Linked DNA regions of Homo sapiens: all the other regions are linked to region 1. The links are contacts of gene promoters, found by promoter capture Hi-C in blood cells and fetal thymus (Javierre and others, 2016). All regions are on one chromosome and are shown on one strand. The core of a region is centred on a gene start or on the middle of the fragment in contact, and the rest is flanking DNA. Distances in the headings are between cores, read along the strand shown.

Region 1 (3,078 bases), core at 90-2,589:
CTGAATTGAGGCTGTCGCCCAAAATGTTTCCACAGGACACATGTGAAAATGTGGCCCCTGGCCGGCGCTAGGCTGTCAATTTTTACCTCCCCTTCCCAATCTGAGACACGCTGGAGGGGTGGCGGCGAGCGACCCTCGGCGGCGCGCTCCGTATCTCCCCAGTGGAGTCCGCCCTCCGAGGAGCGCCCGCTCGTCCCTATCCAACCCAGCGGCGCGGAGCGGGAGCCGGCGTCACCGCAGCCCCGCAGTCTGACGCGCCCACAGCAGGGGCGGGGGTAGCGGGGGCAGCGGAGATGGCCCTGGGCACGTGCGGGAATCAACGTGACATTTCCCAAACCAGGCAGCCCAGAGAGCCCTGGACGTGAATTGCTCAGCGGCTGCGCGGACGGAGCTAGGAGGGCTCTAACCTGGCCGGGGGCGCTTCGCCCATCCCATGAGGACCGAGAAACTCAGCCTGAGCCGGTTCGATTCTCCTGTCAGCTTGTGTTACACGCTCCTTCTCACCTCTGCGGGCGGAACCTAACGCGAAGGCTCGGCGCCCCGGGGGAGGCCGGGCGGGAGCGGGAAGCACTTCGGGAAGCGGACGGTGGAAGGATGCGGGCTGGGACCGCAGTAATTAACACGGACTCAGTTCCTATTAGGTGTTCCGGTTTGTTCATTCTCAAAGGGACCCGGCCAGTGTTACCACCGGCCACATTGCCACTATTATCTCAAATTCCAGATAAGAATACTGCGGCCTAGAGAAGTTAAGTTCGGGGCTGCCTAATTCTTTTACAACAAGGTGGGACTAGGGATGTCAAAAACGTACCCAAAGGTCTTCAAGCCCCCAAAATGTCTCTGTGACGCCGTCTAATATCCCGCTCTCTACCCAGAGGATAAGGATTTGGGAGCCGCCGCCAAGCTCGGGTCCTTACCCGGCAGGATGAGGATGTCCACCAGGGGCTTGCAGTGGTACAGCCCCGTGGCCATGACGCAGTCGGCCCACAGCCCCTTGGAGCCCAGCTCATCCAGCTTGCGGCAGGTGGGGATGGTGTAGCCGCAGGTCACCACCCAGTCATTGGTGGAGGTGGTCACGATGACCCCGATCCAGCCCACGAAGCTCGTGACGAAGCCCACCACCTGCAGGCACGTGGCCACCATGGTGGCCGCCAGGATGTCCCCGTGCCTCGCCCCTCACGGCTGTGCCTGGGCCTGGGCTGGACAGTGCCTGCCCAGGTACGTCTCCCACGCTCGCGAGCCGCTGGAGGGCGACGGCCCGAGGCGGGACACTGGAGGTGGAGGTGGGCGCCGGAGGCTGCGAGCTCAGCGGCGAAGGGCGCACGGCGGGGACAGCAGCGCTGCTGGGCAGCGCGCCCCCGCCCCCTCTTTAAGCCCCGCGGCTCCGGCCGGCGAGCACCAATCGGCGGCAGCCCCGGGGCGCGCCGGCCAATCGCGGGGCGGGGCCGGGAGGGAAGCGTGAAGGGGAGCAGAGTAACCCCAGGGGGGCCATTGGGCCGCCCCACCCCGTCCGCAGCGCAGTCCGGCGATGCAAAGTAAAACAATTCCATCCAGGTCCAGAGAAACGGAGAGCGCAAAGAGGGCGTGCGTTTGTCGAGAGTTCTGTTTTCCTGCGACTGGTTTCTCTTCTTATAGCCCCTCTCTCATCTCAGTCTCTGGGTGTCCATTCCGCTCCGACCCTCCTCAGCTCCTCCCTGCTCGCTCCTTCTTCCCTGCTGCGAGCACTCCAAGGGCGCTCGGTACAGTCCCCCGACGACCCAGGATTGTGACAGACTGAAAAGTGCAGTAGGGACAAACGCGAGGCATTCAGTACACACAGTTACTAGAAGAAAGAAAACGATGCTTTTCAGTGGTTGAACATCATCAGCGGCAAACGTGGCCATAATAATCAACAATAGCAACTCACATTTATCGAGCTGTGTTATATATTATGCAGATGCATTTTACATGCATTAGCTCATTTAATCCTCATAACAGCCTTTGAGGTAGGAACAATTGTCAATGACACATACTAGGCCGGGAGTGGTGGCTCACACCTGTAATCCCAGAACTTTGGGAGGCCAAGGTGGGCGGATCACCTAAGGTCAGGAGTTCGAGACCAGCCTGACCAACATGGTGAAACTCCATCTCTACAGAAAATACAAAAATGAGCCGGGCATGGTGGCGCATGCCTGTAACCCCAGCTGCTTGGGAGGCTGAGGCAGGAGAATAACTTGAAGGAGGTTGCAGTGCGCCAAGATCGTGCCACTGCACTCCAGCCTGGGCAACTGAGTGAGACAACGTCTCAAAAGCAAACAACAACAACAACAACAAATTACACGCACTAGCCATAGAGAAACAGCACAAGAAGGTTGAGTTGCCCAAGTTCACGCAGCTAGGAAGGGGTAGATACCATGGGCCCATCTCATCCCTTTCACGAACTGTTTCTAGGAAACTGTCCTGATCAGTCTGAAAATTCCTAAGGGGTTCATGTGTCCCATTTTAGACGCATTAAAAGCTACAGCAGACTTCTCTGGCTCACTGTAAATAAATTAATATCTGTACCCCACTGAGAAAACTGCCTAGCCCAGAATGAGCGCTCTGATAGTGTAAAGCTATCATCATCACCATCAACATCATTAAGCCACCATGCATACAAATAGGCCGCATTATTTGCACCTTTTTATTCAGATAGGGAAGTCTTCCTTGAGCTGCATTTACATTCAACAGTTTTCACTCCCTTTGAAACATTTGGCTTATCTTATTATCTCCTTCTATCCATTCCCTTGGACCACTGCCTCCTCACCAATCATGAGACTTAAAGGTGTGAGGATTTCAGAAAGCACAAAAACTTCCTGCTCAGCGTTCTAAAATCTAAGATACTAACCATAAATCATAGGTACTGAGCTTTCCCAAAGCCAGCCCTAATGCTGGTTATCAGTGCAATCACCATGTCTTCTAGGAAAGCCTGGACTTGAGGAGACAATTACATTTCCCTGGAGACCCCAAGGAAATCAAGTGCACACACAGAAATGGCTCTTGTAATTGATAGCAGAGTGTCAAGTACAAGGGTCACAGTAATCACCCAGGAAGCACAGTGAC
Region 2 (2,953 bases), core at 351-2,850, 340 kb before region 1:
ACACAAAAGCAGTTGAGAGGAGAATACTATCTTATTTCCTGTTTCATTAGAGTACAATGACATGAGAGCTAAATTTTACAATAAATCCAAAGATATAGGATTCTTACCTTTTTCCATGTCTTCCTTAAGGCACAACTCATGTGTGAACCTGTCTTTGATGCAATTCTTTCTTCCTTTATGTTCCCTTAGCCTGCTTTTTAATTTTTATTTTACCTGTATTATGATACTTCACAGGCTGACTACATTGTGTAAATGTAATAATCTTGAGATCTGTTTATGCATCAAGGGGCATGTTGAGTGTCATTTGGAGAAAGTACTGAGTTCTGGTATCCTTTTTAAAAAAAACCAATAATTTAAATCACTGAATGGAAAGTTTCTGTCCTGAGTGTGTCAATGCCAGTATGAATCAACCAGGTACCTCACAATTTGGAACGGGTGACCATAAAACAATTAGAAAAAAAGATTGATTGAAACTGGAGTAAATGCCTGGTATTAGACTTAAGACAGCCCTCCAATACGCAATCTATGAAGTAAGAGGATAATAGAAAACAGTTGTGATTTGAACAGGGATCAACAGTGTAAAGCTGTTTTTGAAATTTGCAGGATACAGGGTTGGGCCAAAAATGAATAAAGTCATAAATATTCTGATCCTTTGGGATATGTGTACATAGGGAAATACCAAAATATTAAGGGTGATTATTCTAAACATTGACAAATATAAAGATGTTAAATGTAGTCAAGAAAAGTAGAAAATGAAAAAGAAAACATGAAAAACAGGAGAAAGGAAAAGGAGAATGAAACAAGGTCAGAAAAGAAGAGCTAGTTAGCATTTTAGATGCTATGTAAACAAGAATTTCTCAATTTAAAAGTTATTAAAAGTTTAATAAATGTTATTAAAAGTTTCTCAGTTAAAAGTTTGTGAAATGAATGAAACTATCTTCTCGGTTACCTTGAAAGCCACATTCAAATTTAAGGATGAACACAAAGGACTTCTTTGAGTCCTAGGAGTCCATGACACTTGGCTTTCTGGCTTGTGCCTCTGGACGCACTATATGTTTCTAAAAATCAAAATCTTAAACCATGAAGCTTGAGTGGCTAGTGCACTTTTCAGAGGATTCAAATCAGATTTTTGGATTTCTCATTCTGTGATCATCATTCAATTCCATTTGCCAAACAGCCTACCAGACCCCTTTCAGACTGGAAACAAATGGGCCAGGTGAAATAGCAACAAGGGCCCATCCTACAAATACTACCATGTTTTTTTCCCCAGTATGGACTTTATATCAGGTTTCAGAGTCCTCAGAGTACAATCTGTATGCCACTGGAAAAATGTTATTCCTGTTATTCTGTTGTTTCTTCATAGAAGTCCAAGGATGTACGTTTACCTGAAAGTTTTGTAATGCACTGTCTTTCATTCTGTGTCCAGTGAGCAGCCTGGCATGGACACTGTGGCAGCCTCAGTTCTCTGGGGCAGAGCATGAGAACTGGGTGATTAACCCTGTGTAAAGAATGGGGCCTGATTCAGTTCTGACACATTAAAGGGTCAATATTTCTTGCCAGTAATCGTTCCTGCAGGATACCTTAGAAGGAAATCTTACAGAAAGGAAGTTATAGGACTGAATTCCAAACCCACTGCTTGCCGAGTTAGGATGGATAGAACCATAATGCATGCCCAGGTATATGCAGTGCCAATGACCTCATGAAGAAATCTAACTTGTTATTTTCAACAACACCCCTTAGAGTGCAATAAAACCACCAGAGGGTCTGTGCTTCTGAAAGAATGTGTTGCCAGCTGTGGTTGTTGCCACATGAAACCCTACCTGATGCTAACTGAATAATACTCTGCAATCCCATTTCATAAAGTTGTATTTTTAAAAAATTTCCTCTGTTCCTAAGAGCCTTCTGTTCTCCTGCTACCAGTCTCAGGAGTCGTTCCTCCCTCTTTGTTCTCTTCATCTGTGCCTCTTGCCCCCCACCACATAGCTCTACAAATACAATTTTCCTTTACCAACAGCTCCATGCTTTCACTGTGCCCCAGTTAATCATTCTAATTTCCTTTGGTGGTCTCATTACCTCCCAAATTAAGCTCCCCATTGCACCAATATTCAAGCTTAAAATGATTTGGAAATTAAGCCTGTTTTTCCACAAGGGCAAGATGCCTGTTGAAGTAACAGTGTGAGGTTGAATCTCTTTGATGAATGCCTTTTATTAACTGATTAGACTGGATTTTACTTCCTGCCTGAAGTCAGAGTCAAAGAATCTCTGAGTGTGTCTAACCATCTCTACTCTTCTACCTGATCTGAAAATAATGGCCTAACCCTAAAGTGTTCCCCTGTCTCCCTGCTATCTGTCTTGCTTCCCAGCTCCCTGGTAACTGGTTCAGCTTTGTGTGGTGGTGGTGAAAGTTACATTTCTATGGAGAAATGCAGCAGCACATAGCAGAGTGGCAGAGAAGCTCTATTTAGGCTTTGTTTCTTGACCACATCACTTGATTTTTAGGGAGATCCTATGATTGGTATTCTGAGCATTTTCTGAGTTGCCTCATCGCTGGGTCAATGGCTTTATCTACTAAAAGAAACAGAAAGGGAAATTGGTTCTGTCTCACTGAGCTTGCCAGAGTGGAATCTGGCCAAACTGCTAAACACCACTGAGCTTCATTCCTCACCTGTAAAATAGAGATAAATAATAAAACATACACTGTGTGAAGATTAAATAAGACAATGTATGTAAAGTAAATAGCGTGGTGACTGAGAGGTCAGCACAGTGCCGTGAATAAGAGCATGAACTGGAGCAAGACTGTCTTCCCCAAATTCTCCCTCAGTCTTTTGCTGTCTATGTAGTTTAGGGGCAAGCCAAACCACTTGTGCCTCATTTGCCAATCTGTAGAAAGGGCGATAATAAAATTTACCTTATAGGGTTGTTGTGAAGATGAAATGAATTAGTGAAAACTGCT
Region 3 (2,862 bases), core at 154-2,653, 380 kb before region 1:
TTTATTTTTATTTATTTATTTATTTATTTATTTATTTATTTATTCCATATAAATTTTAGACTAAGGTGATCACTTTCAACACAAAAGTACACTGGTATTTTGATTAGGTATGCACTGAATCTTTACATCAATTTAGAAAAATTTGACATAATAACAATAATTGTGTTATCTAATCCATGAACATGTTATATGTCTCTACTGATTTAGGTCTTATCCAGAATATTCAGGTAGGTGTAGGGTGGGGGGTGTTGAGGTTTAAGTAAGCAAAGTACAAGTACTTTATTAGGGTGGCAAAATTATTCTGTATGATATTGCAATAGCGAATACAAATTGTCAAAACTCATAGAACTTTACAACACAAAACATAAAGGTTGTGGACATATTTTGTTACAGTTATTTTGCTTTTTTGGCATGGTATTAGCAAAAGAATAGACCCAAGGATCAGTCAAACAGACTACAGGGCCCAGAAATAGACCCACACAAATATAGTCAACTGATTTTTGACAAAGAAGCAAAGGCAATACAATGGAAAAAGAATAGTCTTTCCAACAAATGGTGCTGGAACAATTGAGTGTCCATATGCAAGCAAGGAACTCAAACACACACCTTACACTTTTCACAAACATCAACTCAAAATTCATCATAAACATAAATGCAAAATGCATAGGTATAAAACTCCTTGAAAAAAATAGGAGACAATTTATACAGCCTTGGGTTTGGTGGTGAATTTTTAGATACAACACCAATAGTAATGCAAAAAAAAAAAAAGATGAACTTTCTTAAAAACAAAAATTTCTGCTCTGCAAAATACCCATTAAGAAAATTAGACAAGTCTCAGACTCATCCGATATGCAAAGCACATATCAGATAAAAGATCTGCGTCCAAAATACATAATAAGAAAATAACAATCCAATTTAAAAATAGACAAAAGGCCTCATCAGACACCTCACCAGAGAAGATATGTAGGTGGCAAATATGTATATATAAAGATGCTCTACATTATTTGTTACTAAGGAATTTCAAATTAAACAACAATGAGAAGTCACTGCATACCAATCAGAATAGCTAAAACAAAACAAAACAAAAACTACTAACAGAGTAACAGTAGCTCTCACTCATTGCTGGTTGGAATGCAAATTGATACAGCAACCTTAGAAGGCAGGTTGGCTGTTGCCTACAAACTAAAAATTGTCCTACCATATGATCCAGTAACCACGCTATTCGGTATTTACTCAATGATTTGAAAATGTATGTCCATACAAAAACCTTCATGAGAATGTTTATACCAGTTTTACTTATAATTCCCCCCAAACTGGAAGCAATAATGATGTCTTTCAGTAGGCAAATGAACAAACTGTGGTACATCTATTCAATGGAATATCATTTAGTGATAAAAAGGAACAAGCTAGCAAGCTATGCAAAAACATAGATAATTCTTTGATGAATATTGCTAAGTGAAAAAAGCCAGTCTGAAAAGGCTGTATATTATTTCAATTTTATGACATTATGGAAAAGGAAAAAGCCATAGCAATGGTAAAAGGTCAGTGGTTTCCAGGTGTTCAGCAGAGGGTGGGTGAGTAGGGCCGGGAGGTTCGAACAGGTAAAGTATAGGTAAATTTTTGGGAAGGCAAAACTATTCTATATGATACTGTAATTGTGAATGAAGGTTATAAAGCATTTATCATTCCAATTTTAGTATGTGTGCTGCCAAGGCGAGCATGAGCATTTATCAAAACTCATAGAAATTTATAACACAAAAAGTAAACCTTTATGTATACAAGTTTTTAAAAACTTTAGAATGTCAGAGGATCCCAGGATGGAATATAGAGTATAACAAAACAATCTAACTCTATTTAAGTGTAGGTAGCCACTTCATTTAAGGAGGTTACTTAGAATGCTGATCTAAGTAACTTTGGAAATGAGTAGAGTCTGTAAAACTAAGGGTAAAATTAACTATACATAAGGACAGTATGCTAGTTGATAACCATTTTCCCCCTACAGAGTTAGAGGATAACAATTCTCAAACCAGTATACATGTATACTGAAACTGAATAATTAAGCAAATGAATGGAAGATGATGTGATCCAGGTTTCTTGTTGATGCAATGAGAGGTTAAAAGGGAAGGAAGCAAAGATGATCCTTGTGATAATAGATTAAGTTGGAGATATCAGTATGAACTTATGTTTGGCTTAACATAGATACCCATGGTTACATATAGGAATATGTGTAGATGTGTATATATACACAAGGAAGTATATACACAAGGAAATATGTACACACATATATGTCTTTGCTCTGGCAGCTGAGAAGACCTAAAAGCAATGACACCCCAATAGCAATGAACATACCTTGCACCCAGATATTGGTTTCCAATAGCATTCTCCCATAAAAGGAACTAGTTCTCCTTGGAGAAATGGCTGCTTCTAGGAATAGAGCCAGAAATACACAATATGTGCCTGGAGCATCTTGTAATGTCAGAACGTCAAAAAATGCTCAAATATAAAAACCCACAATGATGACAATATGTTAAAGGGACACAGAAGTCAACTAAAAGAGCTCCCAGTGGCCAAAGTTGGAAAAATCTGAGCAACATAAATAAAGTAGTATTGAATTATAACCCAAAGTATAAATAAATATCCATGAATGCATATGGACATAAATCAATGATTGAACAAATAGTCTGGGAGCAGTGGCTCACACCTGTAATCCCAGCAATTTAGGGGGCCGAGGTGAGCAGATCACTTGGGGTCAGGAGTTCGAGACCAGCCTGGCCAATATCATGAAACCCCATCTTTACTAAAAATACAAAAATTAGCTGGGCGTGGTGGCGCACACCTGTAGTCCCAGCTACTTATGAGGCT
Region 4 (2,866 bases), core at 12-2,511, 430 kb before region 1:
AAAACAAAACAAAACAGTTTACCTACAAAAAAATAATCTTGAATTGGACCTACTAAGGGAGTGCACTAAGCTTACCAGCAGGAATGTCTGGGTCTCATCAGCTATAAGAATCCTTTCCTGTCCTTAGGCTTCCTGTTTTCTATAAATTAAGAGATTAAACCAGCAGATTTCTGTTTCTCTCTCTCTCTCTCTCTGTCTCTCTCTCTCTCTCTCGCTCTGTGTGTGTGTGTGTGTGTGTGTGTGTGTGTGTGTGTGTGTGTGTGTGTTTCCAGGTCTGACTTGCTGTGAATGCTTGTTGATGTACTCCAAGGCTGACCTCTCTTTTGGAGCTTTCCTCATGAAACCCAACAGGCCACTCCATAAATCCACAACACATACAGTGGATTTTTTTTTTAAACTGCCATATGCTTTAAATAAGCATGTGAGTTTATTGCCTGAACACATGCTGATTTATCAACTCAATCTTATTTCTTAAGGACAGGAATAGTGGTTTCGAGTACAGTACACTATAAATAGAAAACACAACACGTGACTGCTGGATTAATCAATCAGCGAACTTTTATGAGCATCTGCAGTATGTCTCTTTCTGTCTCTCTTTTTTTTTTTTTGAAACAGGGTCTCGCTGTCTCACTCAGGCTAGAGTGCAGATCACAGTTCACTGCAGCCTTCACTTCCTGGACTCAAGGATCTTCCCACCCCAGCCTCCCAAGTAGCTGGGACTACAAGTATGTGCCATGAAACCCAGCTAATTTTTATTCTCTCTCTCTCTCTTTTTTTTTTTTTTTTGTAGAGATGAGGTCTCGCTATATCCCCCAGGTTGGTCTTGAACTTGTGGGCTCAAGGATCCTCCTGCCTCAGCCTCCCAAAGTGCTGGGATTACAGGAGTGAGCCATTGTGCCCAGCCAATATGTCTCATACCATGAAAAGTCATAGGATTTTGAGAAGACCATACAGATCTTTTGCTCCAGTGTTTATCAAAGTGCATAAAACAGGACTGTAGTTCCATGTGAACATAGTAAGTAGTACAGTAACAACAAAATAACACATGGGAAATGGACAGTTAAGCAAACTAAACATTTATTTGCTTTGGGAATTTTTCAGGTCTTTGTGACTCTCCATGCATCGGTTCCCCCAAATATGTAGCTTTGCTCAAATGTAGTGGATCATAGAGTACTTTTATTTACCAACTCAAGAAAGCATATGAGTTTCTAGATCTAACTGATGGTTTACAAAAGATGCAGTGGGTAAAGAACATATTAAATGATACCAGGAGGATTTAATCAGCCATTCCAGAATGTAAGAGATTCTACAAGATAAATGACCAGTTTCTCCAATGACAAAGAAATAGCATTAACAGAAGAGGGTGGGCCAGTTATAGAACAAAAGAGATTTAAGAGAAAAATCACCATATGTAATATGGGGACTTTTTGGAAAATGATCCAAACAAACCAAATGCAAATAGATATTTTTGAGATAAGCAAAGATAATTGAACATGAACTGGGTATTAAAAAATATAAGCATTACATATTCTAAAACCTAACTATTGTTCATTTTACTCAGTGTGATTATGATATTACTGTTATTTTTTAGTTTGTTTTGATATACATACTGAAGTAGTAAAGGTAAATTAATACCAGAATTTTCCTGTAAACATATACTGGTAATGCTTTTCTCCTTGATATGAGTGTTTTGTAGGTGGGTATGTTAACTTTATTAAAAAGATGTTCTTAACACTTATGATTTGTTCACTTTCTATGTGTAAGTCCTATTTCAAAAATTTTATATATAATTTAAATATTATATATGCATATATAATGCATATAGGTGGTTTAAAAATCAGTTTCTATTGTAAAAGAGTACACAGTGAAAAGTATTCCTTCCTTTCCCTGAAGCCTACTGACCCGTTTCTTCTCTCAAAGACAATGACTATTACCAGCATTCATCTGAAGGTATTTTTATTTTATGTGTGTACAAGTATGTCTATGCAGATATGTCTTGGATATAATCCATGTAAGTATATATAGATTTTTCCATTTTTAGTAGTAACATGTTATTTTATTGTGTGTTTTACTGTGTGTTATTTGCCTGGTCACTTAGTGCTGGAAATTTAGGCAGTTTACAGTTTTTGTACAGTTTTTGTACAGTCTTTATGCTCATGGGTTTTTAAATGTTAATAGATGTTGCCAAATTGTCCTCCAAGATGTCTGTACTAGTTTACCTCCATTTCCACCCAGTAATATATATATCACGGTGCTCAAGTTCACAGTATACTGAGTCATATATAGTAATGCCCTCAAGAGGGAGGTATCTTTAAAATAAATTCAGGATAAATTGACCTTTGATTATAACTGTTCTTACTCAAATACCTTAAACAAGGAAGACACAGCTTATTTGTGTATAAAATTAGTATAGCAGAATGTCTACTTAAGTACTTCTAGAATTAAAGCTTTTCTCTTCTAAATGGTGTGAAAAATGGCTATAGTAATCAAGATTGTGTGGTGCTGACAGAGAGACTATAAAGGGTTGGTTCAGTACTATGCACAAGATGTAGCACCAGGTGCTTTAAATATATTATCTTATTTTCTACTGATACATTTTATAAATGAAGTAATTGAGACTCAGAATGACTAAATAGCAAAGCTGGAATTGGAACCACTTGCAATTGGTCTGATTCCACAGCCTGTTTTTTCCACTTCTTCAAAGCAGAAAGGTATGAGCAGGAGGAAATAGAGCTATAGTACATGGCATGAGTGGAAGGGTATGGGGAACATTGGAGGAAAAGTTTGAAAAATTAGAGTGGAGTGAGAGTAAGGAAGAAATTGAAACAGAGATGTGTATGTTGGGGAATGAAATGATGAAGGCTGA
Region 5 (2,925 bases), core at 296-2,795, 410 kb before region 1:
GGCATGTTGTGGTCGCTCAATAAACACTGCTTTCCTCCCCATTGTCCTCCTCTTTATTCTGTTTCATTACAAGGTCAGCAGATTGAATCAGGACCAGCTGGGAGGGCTACTTCTATGAGAGAAGATCTGTCCACAGTCATGGTTTTCAATGTTTAGTGCACCAGAATCACCTTGAGGGTTTGTTAAAACAGACTGCTGAACATAACACATCTATGAGAATGGCCAAAATCCAGAACACCAAATGCTGGTGAGGATGTGGAGCAATAAAAACTCTCATTTATTGCTGATGGCAATGCAAAATGGTACAGCCACTTTGGAAGACAATTTGCCAAATTTTTACAAAACTAAGTGTACTCTTACCATACAATCTAGCAATCATGCTCCCTGGTATTTACCTAAAGGAGTTAAAAACTTATGTCTAGACAGAAACCTGCATATGAATGTTTATAGCAGTTTTTTTCATAATTGCTAAACTTTGGAAGTAACCAAGATGCCCTTCAGCAGGTGAATGGACAAATAAACTGCAGTAGATGCAGACAGTGGAATATCATTCCATTCAAATGAGCTATCAGGTTGGTGCAAAAGTAATCGCGATGTTTGACATTATTTATATGGTTAATGGCAAAACCCACAATTACTTTTGCACCAACCTAATGTTAAGCCATAAAAAGACTTGGAGAAAACTTAAGTGCATATTACTAAGTGAAAGAAGCCAATCTGAAACGGCTACAGTCTGTATAGTTACGACTATAGGAAATTCTAGAAAAGACAAACTATGGAGACAGTAAAAGGATCAGTGGTTGCTAAGGGTAAAGGGGAGAGAGGGATAAGTAGGCAGAGCACAGAGGAATTTCAGAGCAGTGAAACTATTCTATATAATACTACAATGGTGGATACATGTCATTAGACATTTGTCCAAACCAATAGAATGTACAATAGCAAGAGTGAGCCCTTAATGTAATGTATGGACTTTGGGTGATAATGATCTGTTCATGTAGGTTCATCCATTGTAACAAATGTACCACTCTGGTGGGGGATGTTGATAATGGGAGAGGCTATGCATTTGTAGGGGCAATGGGTATATAGGAAATCTCTGTACCTTCCTCTCAATTTTGCTATGAACCTAAAACTACTCTAAAACATTGAGTCTTTAGGAAATAAACTTATTTAGGAAAAGAAAAAAAGAAACCAGACTGCTAGGTCTCGCCCCCAGAGTTTCTGATACAAAAGGCCTGGGGTGGAACCTGAGAATCTGCATTTTAGTAAGTTCCCAGGAGATATTGATGCTGCTGGTCCAACAAGCACACTTTGTTGGTCCAGAGAGCACATGTGGATCTACAAGATGTATGATAAAAGTCCATTTCAAATTAGTCTAAATGTAAATATCTGGTTGCTTCTTTCTTATTTCTCTTTCCTCCCTCCCTTTCTTCCTTCCTCCTACCTCCCACATTTTTTATCTTCATATTTGGGGGTTATAGAAACCAACTATATTTCTCACCTCTGTATTTTTTTGTCAACAGCTCAAGCCTCTTCTTATGTTAAGAAACCAGGAGGGAGCAACAATGTTGTTTTGTGTTAAGTATCTTGTTTCATTCAGATACTAAGAAAGAGAAACAAGTATTCTCTGGGTTGTTTGCTAATCTGAACTGGTATTGTCTATTCAGAATAGAAAGTCTTTTTGATGACTGATGGTTTAAAAAAAAAGGGGGGAAACTCTATAGGCTACCTGTTGCCAAAGAGTATTTTTGACATTTTAGGGTTTGTTTTATCTTTTATCAATATAAATATTTGAAAAATATAATAGTCAGGAAAATGGCTAAGGAAAACATTTCAGATCAGTGCTTGAAAGGACAGCTCAAGTTCAGCCTGAAGACTATTAAAGCCCTCCTCGTCTTCCACTCAGCAGCACCGTGTCCTTTCTTGGGGCCCATGAGCCCACTGAAGTTGAATACAAAGTGCTGTGTTTGCTTATGTGCATTTTTCTGGGAAGGTTTATGGCCTTTGGTGGATTTTCAGAGGGATTGTGACACACACACAAAAAAAGATTAAGAAATACTGCTATGGGGATGTGTCTGGTCAAAAGCTACATCTTAATTTCTTGATAAAAAAGGTAAATTTCTAGCGAGCTAGCAAGATACCACCATCTCAGCGTTTCTCATTGTTAGAATAGAGAAAAATGTTTTCCTAAATGAGTTCTTGTCACATTTAATGAGAGGTTCGTAAGGCCCTTAGCATAGTATCTGGTGTATGATAGATGCTAAATAAACGGCAGCCAGTAACAGTGAAGTCCTGCTTGCTGTGCCATTTGTCTTACGGTGATTGCTACACAAGCACTAGAAGCAAAAATCTTTGGCATATCTTTGATTCGAACTGAAGGATCAGTGGTCTCTCTCTGTGAGATAGGGGTTATTACCTTCATTTTACCAATAATGAAACTCAGCTTCATTTCCAAAAGGACTTAGAGGTAGGTGTTATTTTGTTACATTCACTTATTAGAGCCATATTTTCTGTCAGTGAAGTTGTATCATCATTACATACGTATACCAGCATTTTACCCATTGTGTCTTGCAGGGAGTATCGTGATTTCTGAGCACTCAGCCTCTGAAACAAGTCTGAGAAGGACTGGTCAAGATGAGATCTTGGAAGACAGCTTGGCCCAGGCTGGGAAGCATTGATGGGTAAAGATTCCTCCATGCCTTTTCATGGCCTTGTCTGGTTCTCAACTCTGTGCTCTGCCTCTGAACCACTGCCATGGTGAGGAGTATTGCTTATCCCCCCGTGTCATGCTCCCTAGGAAGTAGTTTTGTACTTAAGCAAAAACTTGGCTAAGAAAGGGAAAATATAACATATGCTCATGCACAAAACAATAACACACACATACCACTTAAAATATTTTGTTTTCCGAAAAACGTGAAAACAAACAGA
Region 6 (3,031 bases), core at 338-2,837, 450 kb before region 1:
TTCTTGTTTTTTTTTCTAATTGACAAACATTTTTCCCCCATTACAGTTTCTAACTAGTTATTTGGTGATTACTAGTTCTTGTGAAACAGGTATGTTTCCATATCCTCCTTGTACAAATGGCTTAATAGTGCTTAAGGAGTTTATTGTCAAGACATGGAAGACTGCTAAAGACAAGCAAAATAGAATCATTTCTGCCCCTCAGCTTAGGCAGCCCTTGAGGAGGAAATGCCAATTGCTCCCTTTAATGTTTGGAAAGAGAAATGTGATTATTGTAGCTCTTAAGGCAGACAACTAAAAAATCTTGTTGAAATGGATTTCTTCTAGGAATTCAGGGCCTCTCTTCAGACTCTACAAGTCATATGCTCTATTAAAGCATAGTTTCCACGATAACTACTTGCTGGCATAAAGGCCACGAACAGTTCTTACTTTCTGGGGTCATTCTTCAAATTAACAACAAAGTCCACCCCATCCCTTACCCCTACCCCTAGGTATGATAATTTCATCTCCACGAAAACATATTACTGCTAAACCCAAGCGGTTCAGCATGCCACTTTTCGGATCTGATGTCAATTTACAATCCTTCAAAGCTCAAAAGCTACTTTTTCCTTTTGTCAGCAAGACACTTCCACCCTCGTGTGTCTTGTACATACTGATAGGTCACAGCAAACATTCATTGAATTTTAACTGGGAGCATTTTGGATGGAAATCAAGAGACCTGGGATTAACTGTAAAACCCATGATAAATTATACCAAACGAATGAACAAGAAGCAAGCACTACGTGTTTTTCCCTTTGAGACAGTCTCACTGTTACCCAGGCTGGAGTGCAGTGGCTCGATCTCGACTCACTGCAACTTCCGCCTCTCAAGGTAAAGCGATGCTCCTGCCTCAGCCTCCCGAGTGGCTGGGAGTACAGACGCGCACCACCACGCGGGCCATTTTTTTTAAAATTGTTTGTAGAGACGGGTTCTCCCTATGCCTACGCTGCCAAGGGTGGTCTCGAACTCCTGGGCTCAAGAGATTCTCCGGCCTCGGCCTCCCAAAGTGCTGGGATTACAGGCGTGGGCGTGTAAGCATATATATACATGATTTTTTTTTCCCGAGGACCTGGTCCCCGAAGCACCAATTTCCCTCAACAGTCATTTAGAAAACGAGGCTCACAGACAAAACACAAACAAATAACTTTTTCGCTGGAGGATTATAACTGCAATAAAAGGAGATCCCAAAGCAACCTGAGACACTGCCTTGCCCTGATTGGAAAGGGGATTCCGGTGATTAGTGAAAGATGACTCCTGCATCCCTCGCGTGCGTCCGTATCCGGGAGCAGCCACTAGGTAACTGTAGAGGCCACTGCAATTAATCGGCTTGAACAGCCAGGAGCGGAAACCCGAGAGTCAGTTCAACCACAGCCACCCGCGTGTGCCCGCGGAAAGCCGATGGCCTACTCTCGTCCGGCAGCGCACTGGTTTCCTGGGTTACCGGCCTCAGCGCTCCTCCCGCTTTCTTTTCCGGGAGGCGACAATCTGACGCTCTCAGCGCGTGACGCAGCACGCTTTGATATAAATGCAGACCGCGCGGCCGTAGCTTCCTCTCTGCTCTCGCGGCCGACTCGCAAGATGGCGCCGGTGAGTGAGCGATGTCTTGGTGGGAGTGTTGTGTGGCAATTTAATGATTTCCGCTGTAACGATTTTTGCATCTGTCGAGTGGAGACGTCTCAGTCAAGATAAAGGGAGGGGAGTAGTGAAGTCTGGGTCAGAAACACAACCAAGACGCGAGGATCCTGAACTGTTTTTCGAGACTCCCTGGCAGCTGCCATGAGGTCTAGTGGAGTTGGAGCTGGGCCCGGAATTGGTTTAGGATGGGTGGTTTTGGACACGCGGGAAAGAGGGAGGCACAACTGTAAATGGGCCGGTGGTACTGCAATCTGAGCCATTTCTTTACTATCTCGCGCCTGATAATGCTTTTGCCACTCAGCACTGGGTAGGGGAATGGTGGGTAATCGGGCCGGTCTGACGACCTTTGCCAGGCCAGAGGGAGCTCCTAGGCGCTCAGCTCCCGCGATGGCCGACATCACAAGTTTTTGAGAACTTTCAGTTGGGGAAGAAGTTTCTCGGTGAAGTAATTTTTAGAAAAGTATAAGTCTAGATTCCAGCAATGTGAAATAAACGTGCTTCAGATGTTTTACTTAAGTCATTAGTAAGGGAACCAGTAAGATGTTAAAATGTTCCTAAGAATATCTGAAAAGCTAGATATACATGCGCAATTTACAAATAAAGTTAGGATAAAATTGCTGGGCTAGCTACAAAACTGGGTAATGCCCAGCATGGCCATAAACCCTATAGGGTTATCTGTTCCATTAGACAGAAGTTGTTTGTGTCTCCCAAATTAACTTCTGCGCCAACTGGGTAATTATCTTTTGGCACATGTTACCATGCTACCTGAGAAAGCAAACTAATGTGTAATACTTGGTAGCCACTTGGGTGAATCTAAATTGGAGGTTATAGTCTGATAAATACAGATTTGTTTGTTCATATTGCAGTGAATGTACATGGTTGCTGGCCACAGTAACATTTTGCTTATGTAGCCATATTATATGGTCTTGGTATAAAAGGTTTGGATATGGAAAATTTAAGTTCCACGGTGTTGGTTTTTAGGTTTTTTTTTTTTTTTGAGACAGAGTCTGTTGCCCAGGTGGGAGTATAGTGGCATGATCAGGCTCACTACAACCTCCGCCTCCCGGGTTCAAGCAATCCTCCCGACTCAGCCTCCTGAATAGCTAGGATTATAAGCATGCACCACCACACCTGGCTAATTTTTGTATTTTTACTAGAGATGGGGTTTCACCATGTTGGCCAGGCTGGCCTTGAACTCCTGACCTCACGTGATCCTCCTGCCTCAGCCTCCCAAAGTGCTGGGACGGCACCTTGCCTTTTTTATTTTTATTTTTTCTTTTTCTTTTCTTTTCTTTTTTTTTTTTTTTACCAAAGTCCCCTTCCCTTGCCTATAATAACGTAAGAATTGAATTTTCTAGAC

The links. The method cuts DNA at HindIII sites, captures the fragments that hold promoters and counts their contacts. A CHiCAGO score of 5 or more calls a contact.
Region 2: a fragment that was not itself captured here is called in contact with the fragment with the promoter of CLDN11 in region 1 in 4 of 17 cell types (endothelial precursors, M1 macrophages, M2 macrophages and 1 more); the score reaches 6.9 in endothelial precursors.
Region 3: a fragment that was not itself captured here is called in contact with the fragment with the promoter of CLDN11 in region 1 in 6 of 17 cell types (M1 macrophages, M2 macrophages, endothelial precursors and 3 more); the score reaches 10.0 in M1 macrophages.
Region 4: a fragment that was not itself captured here is called in contact with the fragment with the promoter of CLDN11 in region 1 in 3 of 17 cell types (erythroblasts, M2 macrophages and endothelial precursors); the score reaches 6.6 in erythroblasts.
Region 5: a contact is called between a fragment that was not itself captured here and the fragment with the promoter of CLDN11 in region 1, in 4 of 17 cell types (M1 macrophages, M2 macrophages, endothelial precursors and 1 more). The highest score is 7.2, in M1 macrophages.
Region 6: a contact is called between the fragment with the promoter of RPL22L1 here and the fragment with the promoter of CLDN11 in region 1, in 2 of 17 cell types (erythroblasts and M0 macrophages). The highest score is 5.9, in erythroblasts.

The regions. Positions count from the first base shown.
Region 1 is chr3:170,417,129-170,420,206 of GRCh38, reverse strand. It overlaps CLDN11 (claudin 11), which reads right to left and starts at 1,339. Exons shown (of 3, transcript NM_005602.6): 1 at 915-1,339. The coding sequence starts at 1,140. RefSeq lists an enhancer at 639-1,591. The HindIII fragment of the contact is 15,613 bases long and covers 1-3,078 here.
Region 2 is chr3:170,759,867-170,762,819 of GRCh38, reverse strand. No RefSeq gene overlaps it. Among named protein-coding and RNA genes, the nearest start is that of RPL22L1, 110 kb to the left of the region's middle. The HindIII fragment of the contact is 1,024 bases long and covers 1,089-2,112 here.
Region 3 is chr3:170,793,990-170,796,851 of GRCh38, reverse strand. All of the region lies in intron 2 of LOC105374211 (a long non-coding RNA gene), which reads right to left. Among named protein-coding and RNA genes, the nearest start is that of RPL22L1, 75 kb to the left of the region's middle. The HindIII fragment of the contact is 5,465 bases long and covers 1-2,862 here.
Region 4 is chr3:170,850,101-170,852,966 of GRCh38, reverse strand. No RefSeq gene overlaps it. Among named protein-coding and RNA genes, the nearest start is that of RPL22L1, 19 kb to the left of the region's middle. The HindIII fragment of the contact is 2,377 bases long and covers 73-2,449 here.
Region 5 is chr3:170,831,871-170,834,795 of GRCh38, reverse strand. All of the region lies in intron 2 of LOC105374211 (a long non-coding RNA gene), which reads right to left. Among named protein-coding and RNA genes, the nearest start is that of RPL22L1, 37 kb to the left of the region's middle. The HindIII fragment of the contact is 3,319 bases long and covers 1-2,925 here.
Region 6 is chr3:170,868,751-170,871,781 of GRCh38, reverse strand. It overlaps RPL22L1 (ribosomal protein L22 like 1), which reads left to right and starts at 1,587. Exons shown (of 4, transcript NM_001099645.2): 1 at 1,587-1,623. The coding sequence starts at 1,615. RefSeq lists enhancers at 423-1,148, 1,149-1,875, 2,045-2,094. The HindIII fragment of the contact is 15,380 bases long and covers 1-3,031 here.